Regions from separate parts of the Homo sapiens genome. Here region 1 is linked to region 2. The links are contacts of gene promoters, found by promoter capture Hi-C in human tissues and cell types (Jung and others, 2019). All regions are on one chromosome and are shown on one strand. Each heading gives the region's core, a stretch centred on a gene start or on the middle of the fragment in contact. The rest is flanking DNA. Distances are from core to core; before and after follow the strand shown. Region 1 overlaps ALOXE3 (arachidonate epidermal lipoxygenase 3). Region 2 holds the start of ODF4 (outer dense fiber of sperm tails 4).

Region 1 (3,227 bases), core at 205-2,704, 230 kb after region 2:
ACTTTATTACATTTTTTTCTCTGAGTTAGTGCATCAGAACATTCTGCAGATTGACAACAGCTCTTTCAATGAGTACAAACCTATTATAGAGTCACATACAGTATTTAAAAAGGGAAAACACACAAGTTAACCTCCACCTCCCGGTTCAAGCGATTCTCCTGTCTCAGCCTCCCGAGTAGCTGGGACTACAGTCGCACACTACCACGCCCGGATAATTTTTGTATTTTTAGTAGAGATGGGGTTTCTTTCACCATTTCGGTCAGGTTCCATATTCCAATGGGGGAAAAATAGGCAATATGAACTACGGAAAAGTTCCTATAGATGGTCTGTCCACTTCTTTGTTTTTATTTTTTGTTTTTGCTCATGTTTTGTTTTTTTGAGACAGGGTCTTGCTCTGTTGCTTAGGCTGGTCTCAAACTCCTGGGCTCTATTGATTCTCCTGTCTCAGCCTTCCAAGTAGCTGACACTACAGGTGTGTCTGCCTGCTTTACTTTTTTGTTCTCAGCCTCCGAGTTTAGAGACTCAACCAGGAACAGAACCTTCAGAAAACTCCCACACACTCCCAGGCGGATGTCTGGTCTTGCCTCCCAACCTCTCTGTTCTGTTGCATCAGCCTCCGTCCAGTCAGCCTGACTCCAAACCTTAGTTCTCTTTGACTCATGTTTCCCTCTCTGTCTTCCTAAATCCAGTTAGGTGGCTGATCCCTACTGTCACCACCCTAGTTGTAGTCTTCCTCATAGTGCTCTGGAATTGTGGCAGCTGCTTCTCAACCAGTCCCACCTCTCCCAGCCTCTCGCTGCTTGCCCGCCAAGCCTGCAGGGCCACCACCCTGCTAATCCTCTGAAATACTGCCCAGAAACCACATGGCCCTGCATGCCTCTGCAGCCTCACCTCCAATTAGGTCCCCTCCCTGTTCCCTCACCCTGTTAATACCCCGTGCCTTCCTACTCTGGCTTTTTTTTTTTTTTTTTTTTTTTGAGGCGGGGTCTCACTTTGATGCTCAGACTGGAGTGCAGTGGTGTGATCACAGCTCACTGCAGCCTTGACCTCCCAGGCTCAAGTGATCCTCATGCCTCAGCCTCCCTGGTAGCTGGGACTACAGGCATGCACCACCACATCACTGCATCCAGTTACCTTTTTAAAAAATGTTTTTTAGAGACAAGGTCTTGCTATGTTGCCCAGGCTGGTCTCAAACTCCTGGGCTTGAGCAATCCTCCCACCTCTGCCTCCCATGCTCTGGCTTCTTACCCTCTCATGCATTCCTTCATTCAACCAATAATTACCGGGCTCTTGGTATTTATTAAGTATTGTTCTAGGTGCTGAGGTTTAGTAGTGAAAAAGACAAAAATTCTGGCCTTAGTTGAGCTTAACATTCTTTTGGAGAGAGAAAGAGAGAATCAACAAACACATGTCAGGTGGTTATGAATGCTAAGAGGAAAACTGAAACAGCATCAGGGGATACAGTGTGTCAAGGTAAAGAGATCATTTCAGGGAGGTGGCCAGGGCAGGCCTCTCAGGAGCTGATGCATTAGTAGCTGAAGGAAGGAGAGGTGCTAGTTCTGAAGATAATTGGGGCAAGAGTAGCAGGCAGAGGTATAGTAAGTGTGCAGGCCCTGAATTCTGAATGTGCTGGTGCATTTGAGAACTATCAGGAAGGCCTGCACAGCTGGAGTCGAATAAGTGAACAGCCAGGAAGGAAATGAAGTGGGAGAAGGGGCTGGGGCCCAATCAAGTAGGGCCATGACAAGGTGAGTGAGATGGGAAGCCCTCCGAGGGTTTTAGCGAGGGGTGACGTAATCTGACGGGCATTTGTCCTTGCCAGTGTGCAGTGTGAGGTGGTGTAGATGCTTAGGTGGGGACGTCAGGTAAGCTGCCTCCAGGGTAATGCCCACGGCTGAGTCTGGAGCTCAGACGCCAGGCACAGCCAGAGAAGGGAATTTGGGAGTTGTTGGCAAGTGGGAGGTGGTTAGAGCCATGGACTTGGATGAGATGAGTGAGGCACAGCATGAATGGACCAAGGGCTGAGCCTTGGAGCTCTCCCCTCTCCAATCCTGAAATGCTTTTCTCTGTTGTCTTTTTTCCATTGGAGGCTCATCCATCTTTCAACTCACAAGGCCCCTCTTGTCCTCCAGGAGGCCTCCACTAACCACTCTGCTCCTGGTGCCCCTTTCTGCCCTGCTTGCCCTCTCCTCAAAGAGCCAAGCTCTGGTCTTAGAAGCTTCCTTCTGCTTCTGTTACTGTGAGCTTTTCAGTAACACGCCCTCTGCGTGGGTCTCTGCTGCTAAGCCCAGCAGAGGATGGTTGGATACTGGGTGCTTGAACAAATCTTGGTGAACCGGGTAGGATTAAATCATTACATCCTAATAGGGGCTGCAGATTGAAGTGCCTTGGAAGTCAGGGAGAGGCAGCTGGGCACTTGGGCTTGAAGCTGCCTCTGTCATTGGCCCTGCCTGCCGGGGATTTTCTGGCCAGATCCCAGCCCCCATCTCCTATCCTGACCCACTTCAGAGACCACAAATCTTGGTGGTGGCCATCCCTAACCAGCCCGACAAGACAGTCATGGCTCGGTGTTCCCTACTTCCTCACTTTCCCCCTGTGGTGAGCCCCAGTCCTGAGCTGGCCCTAGGAATCCAGTACCTTCCATCCACACCCTCTACCCTTCCTCCCCACACCCAGGTTTCCCAAGCCGGCTGTGCACCCCAGGAGAGATGGTGAAGTTCCTCACTGCAATCATCTTCAATTGCTCTGCCCAGCACGCTGCTGTCAACAGTGGGCAGGTGAGGCTACAAAGGGCAGGCCTGGGGACATCAGGTCTCAGCAATGGACTTGAGGCCTGAATTTGGGTTGAGAGCTTGGGTGGGTCAGCGTTGGGGTGGGTTTATGATTAGACTTGGGGTTGGAGTGGCAGCTGAGTGGGGTGAAGGGTTGGCATTGGGTGATGACTGGGTGGAGCTGGGTCCAAGGTTGTAATGGTGATTCAAGTTGATGTTAATTTGGGAGAAGAACTTAGGGGCTCCTCTCATGGTTAGAACCCAGCCAGGTGGAGTAGCAGCTTGCTCTGTGTGGCATGGCAACCCAAGGCCCTTTTCTAGGATTACCTCCACTCTGGGGCCACCTCCTTCCCTAGTGACTCACCCCACCGAGTCCTGGAACACTGGGCGGGGAGTGACAAGGAGTAAGCTGGCTTCCTGCCCCACTTCTGGGACTTTCCACTCCCTACCCTTTCC
Region 2 (3,276 bases), core at 366-2,865:
GAATTCAGGGAAAGAAGGAACACAGAAGCCAGATGTGGAAAAAGGAAAATGATCCAGAAAAGCAAGGCCTGAGGCAGAAGGAAAGGAGAATGTGTGGGATCAGGGCCTGAGAGGGGACATTGCAAGGAGTCCTCTCAAAGCTCTGGGTACACAAGACTAAGGAAACCCCCATCTCACTGGGGCTCTTGTCCCTGGTAAATTAGGCGATTAATGAATGATTCTCTTGTGCTGAGTCCATGCCCCTCGTAACTTTTTTTTTTTTTTGAGACAGAGTTTTACTCTTGTTGCCCAGGCTGGAGTGCAATGGTGCGGTCTCGGCTCACCGCAACCTCCACCTCCCGGGTTCAAGCAATTCTCCTGCCTCAGTCTCCAGAGTAGCTGGGATTACGGGCATGTGCCACCACGCCTGGCTAATTTTTTGTATTTTTAGTAGAGACGGGGTTTCACTATGTTAGCCAGGATGGTCTCGATCTCCCAACCTTAGGTGATCTGCCTGCTTTGGCCTCCCAAAGTGCTGGGATTACAGGTGTGAGACGCAGTGCCCAGCCTGATTTTTTTTTTTTTTTTTTTGAGACAGGAGTCTCACTAAATTGCCCAGGCTGGACTCAAATTCTTGGGCCCAAGCAATCCTCCCACCTCAGCCTCCTGGATAGCTGAGACTACAGGTGTGCAGCACCATGCCCAACTCTCTCACAGCATTCTTAGAAGCACAGATTTGGCTCTGGGTTTTATCAAAAGCAGTGACATTTTCCATTGCACCAATCAAATCTATTTAGCCAGGCTACAGGATGAGAAACGATCATCGGAGGTCTCAGTGCCAGTGGAACCATCTTGCAGGCCAAAAAGTAAAGATGACCAGAAAGAGGGAACAAGAATACATCCAGGGTGCAGATACAGAGGCCAAGACAGGCTGGCGGCCTGGGCTGGGATGGGGGGTGGAGGGGCTCACCTTTCCCATTCTCTAAGTCAGAACAGCTCCTGGATTTGTAAAAGTGCAGGAGCCCCATGGACATAACGTGGGCTGATGTGTGGATTCTGTTGCTGACATCCACGGGCCAGCGCTGGTAGAAGAGGCTCCTAGAGAGGTCCAGCCATTTCTTGGAGAAGGCCACGACCAATAGTAGGATAAAGGCAACCAGGCTGAGCTCAGAGGCCAACACCTGGGCCATCCAGCGGAAGCTGTGTGTGATTCTCCATTGAAAGGGCAGCGGAGAGTTCTGGCGCTGGCCCAAGGACCTGTTACTACTGAGGGAGAGGGTGGAGGACAGCAGTCTCCCATCTTGTCCCAGCTCACCTGTGCCCCATCCTGCCTCCCCACTCTTCCTTTCCTTTCCAGGTCTCTGATGTTGGTCTCTTTCTCCTTCTGACCTGGGGAACTCATTCCCAGAGTACTCTGCATCCATCTTGAGCACCACTTCACCCTCTGTCTCCCCTTTCCCTCACCAGACTCAATTGTCTCTTCTCATCTTTTGGATATTTTCATCAGCTGCCACCATGCAGCCTGAGGTCTGAGAAAGAATGAGGAAGTCTAATAACAGACCTCGATCAAATAAGAGACTCTTGATCCAAGAGAAGGCCCCAACCCATTCAGCAGGCCAGGTCCCCTAACTGCCACGGAATTTTCCTGGGGCACAGTGAGATGGGGGAGGGAAGCCAAGTCTTCAGCAATTTTTTTTTTTTTTTTTTTTTTTTTTAGAGAGAGAGACAGGGTCTCCCTCTATTGCCCAGGCTGGGATGCAGTGGCACAACCTTGGCTCACTGCAACCTTGAACTCCTGGGTTCAAGTGATCCTCCCACCTCAGCCTCCTGAGTAGCTGGGATTACAGGATTGTGCCAGCATGCCTGGCTAATTTTTCAATTGTTTGTAGAGATGGGGTCTTGATATGTTACCCAGCCTGGTCTCAAACTCCTGGCCTCTGCCAGGCACGGTGGCTCACGCCTGTAATCACTGCACTTTGGGAGGCCGAGGTGGGTGGATCACCTGAGGTCGGGAGTTCGAGACCATCTTGACCAACATGGAGAAACCCCATCTCTACTAAAAATACAAAATTAGCTGGGCGTGGTAGCACATGCCTGTAGTCCCAGCTACTCAGGAGGCTGAGGCAGGAGAATTGCTTGAACCTGGGAGGCGGAGGTTGCGGTGAGCCGAGATCGCACCATTGCACTCCAGCCTGGGCAACAAGAGTGAAACTCAGCCTCAAAAAAAAAAAAAAAAAACTCCTGGCCTCATGAGATCCTCCCCACTTGGCCTCCCAAAGCACTGGGATTACAGGTGTGAGCCACCTTGCCTGGCCTGTGGCTCCAGCTCTAACTCTTTCCGGAAATCCTGTTTCTCAGGCCACAGCTCAGAACTGTGGATCTGACACCTCCCTCCAGCTTCTGCCTCCCTTTACATATGAGCAATGGTATGTGAGAGGCCCTCCTGTGGTCTGCATATGGTTAATTTGTCTTCACCAAACCTCATGCTGAAATTTGCTCCCCAGTGTGGTGGTGATGGGAGGTGAGAGGGCCTAGTGGGTGGTGTTTGGGTCATGGGGGCAGATGCCTTGTGATTGGATTAACGCCTTCCCTGAGACCTCACTCCATTAGCTCCCCGCAATAGCTGGTTGTTAAAAAGAACCTGGCGCTGTTACCAAGCAAAAGTGCTCGCTGCCAGATGTGCATAGAAGCCAATACTCCAATACTAGGGCACTAGGTTTTGAGAAAAGGAAAGCTTTATTGTGAGCTGACCCACGAGGATACGGGAATCCAGCTCAAATCTGTCTCTCTTTGCTGGTCTTAAGGCAGTACTTTTATTAGAAAAGGTTTAGGGGGAGGATTCTGGGATTAGCGGGTGATTGGTGGAAAGAAAGGAGAAGTCTAGAAAGTCCTTAATCATGTCTGGTTATCTCCAAGGTTCTTCGTGGGTTGCATGTGCAAATTTGGTGGCGTTAGTATGAAACAGCAGGTGGAAATTCAGGCTGTGACATCAGCAAGCTCGTTCTGTGCGGATTGCTGTCAGCCATACGGGTTCCCACTGATTTCAGCCAGTCCTGTTATAAGCAAAGGGATTTTTCAGCATTTCAGCAAGCTGTTTCTTAGCTGCCATCCTGTAAACTCGAAAATGTCTGTTAATCACTGGTTTATTTAACTGTTTGGGGCACAGTTTCAGCTCCTCCCTTACCTTGTGATCTCTGCACAAGCCAGCTCCCCCTTGCCTCCACCATAAGTGAAAGCAGCCTGACGTCCTCAACAGATGCCCAATCTTGAGCTTTCTGGCCATCAGAATTGTGAGCC

Evidence for each region. Contacts are between HindIII fragments. The study calls those that stand out against the background at their distance.
Region 1: a fragment that was not itself captured here is called in contact with the fragment with the promoter of ODF4 in region 2 in 1 of the 25 tissues and cell types used here (lymphoblastoid cells).

What each region holds. Positions count from the first base shown.
Region 1 is chr17:8,103,665-8,106,891 of GRCh38, reverse strand. It overlaps ALOXE3 (arachidonate epidermal lipoxygenase 3), which reads left to right. Exons shown (of 16, transcript NM_021628.3): 14 at 2,677-2,777. Among named protein-coding and RNA genes, the nearest start is that of ALOXE3, 13 kb to the left of the region's middle. The HindIII fragment of the contact is 5,977 bases long and covers 1-3,227 here.
Region 2 is chr17:8,338,179-8,341,454 of GRCh38, reverse strand. ODF4 (outer dense fiber of sperm tails 4) reads right to left here and starts at 1,615. Exons shown (of 3, transcript NM_153007.5): 1 at 950-1,615. The coding sequence starts at 1,403. LOC124903916 (a long non-coding RNA gene) reads right to left here. Exons shown (of 2, transcript XR_007065607.1): 1 at 3,164-3,276; 2 at 2,697-3,032. The HindIII fragment of the contact is 12,554 bases long and covers 1-3,276 here.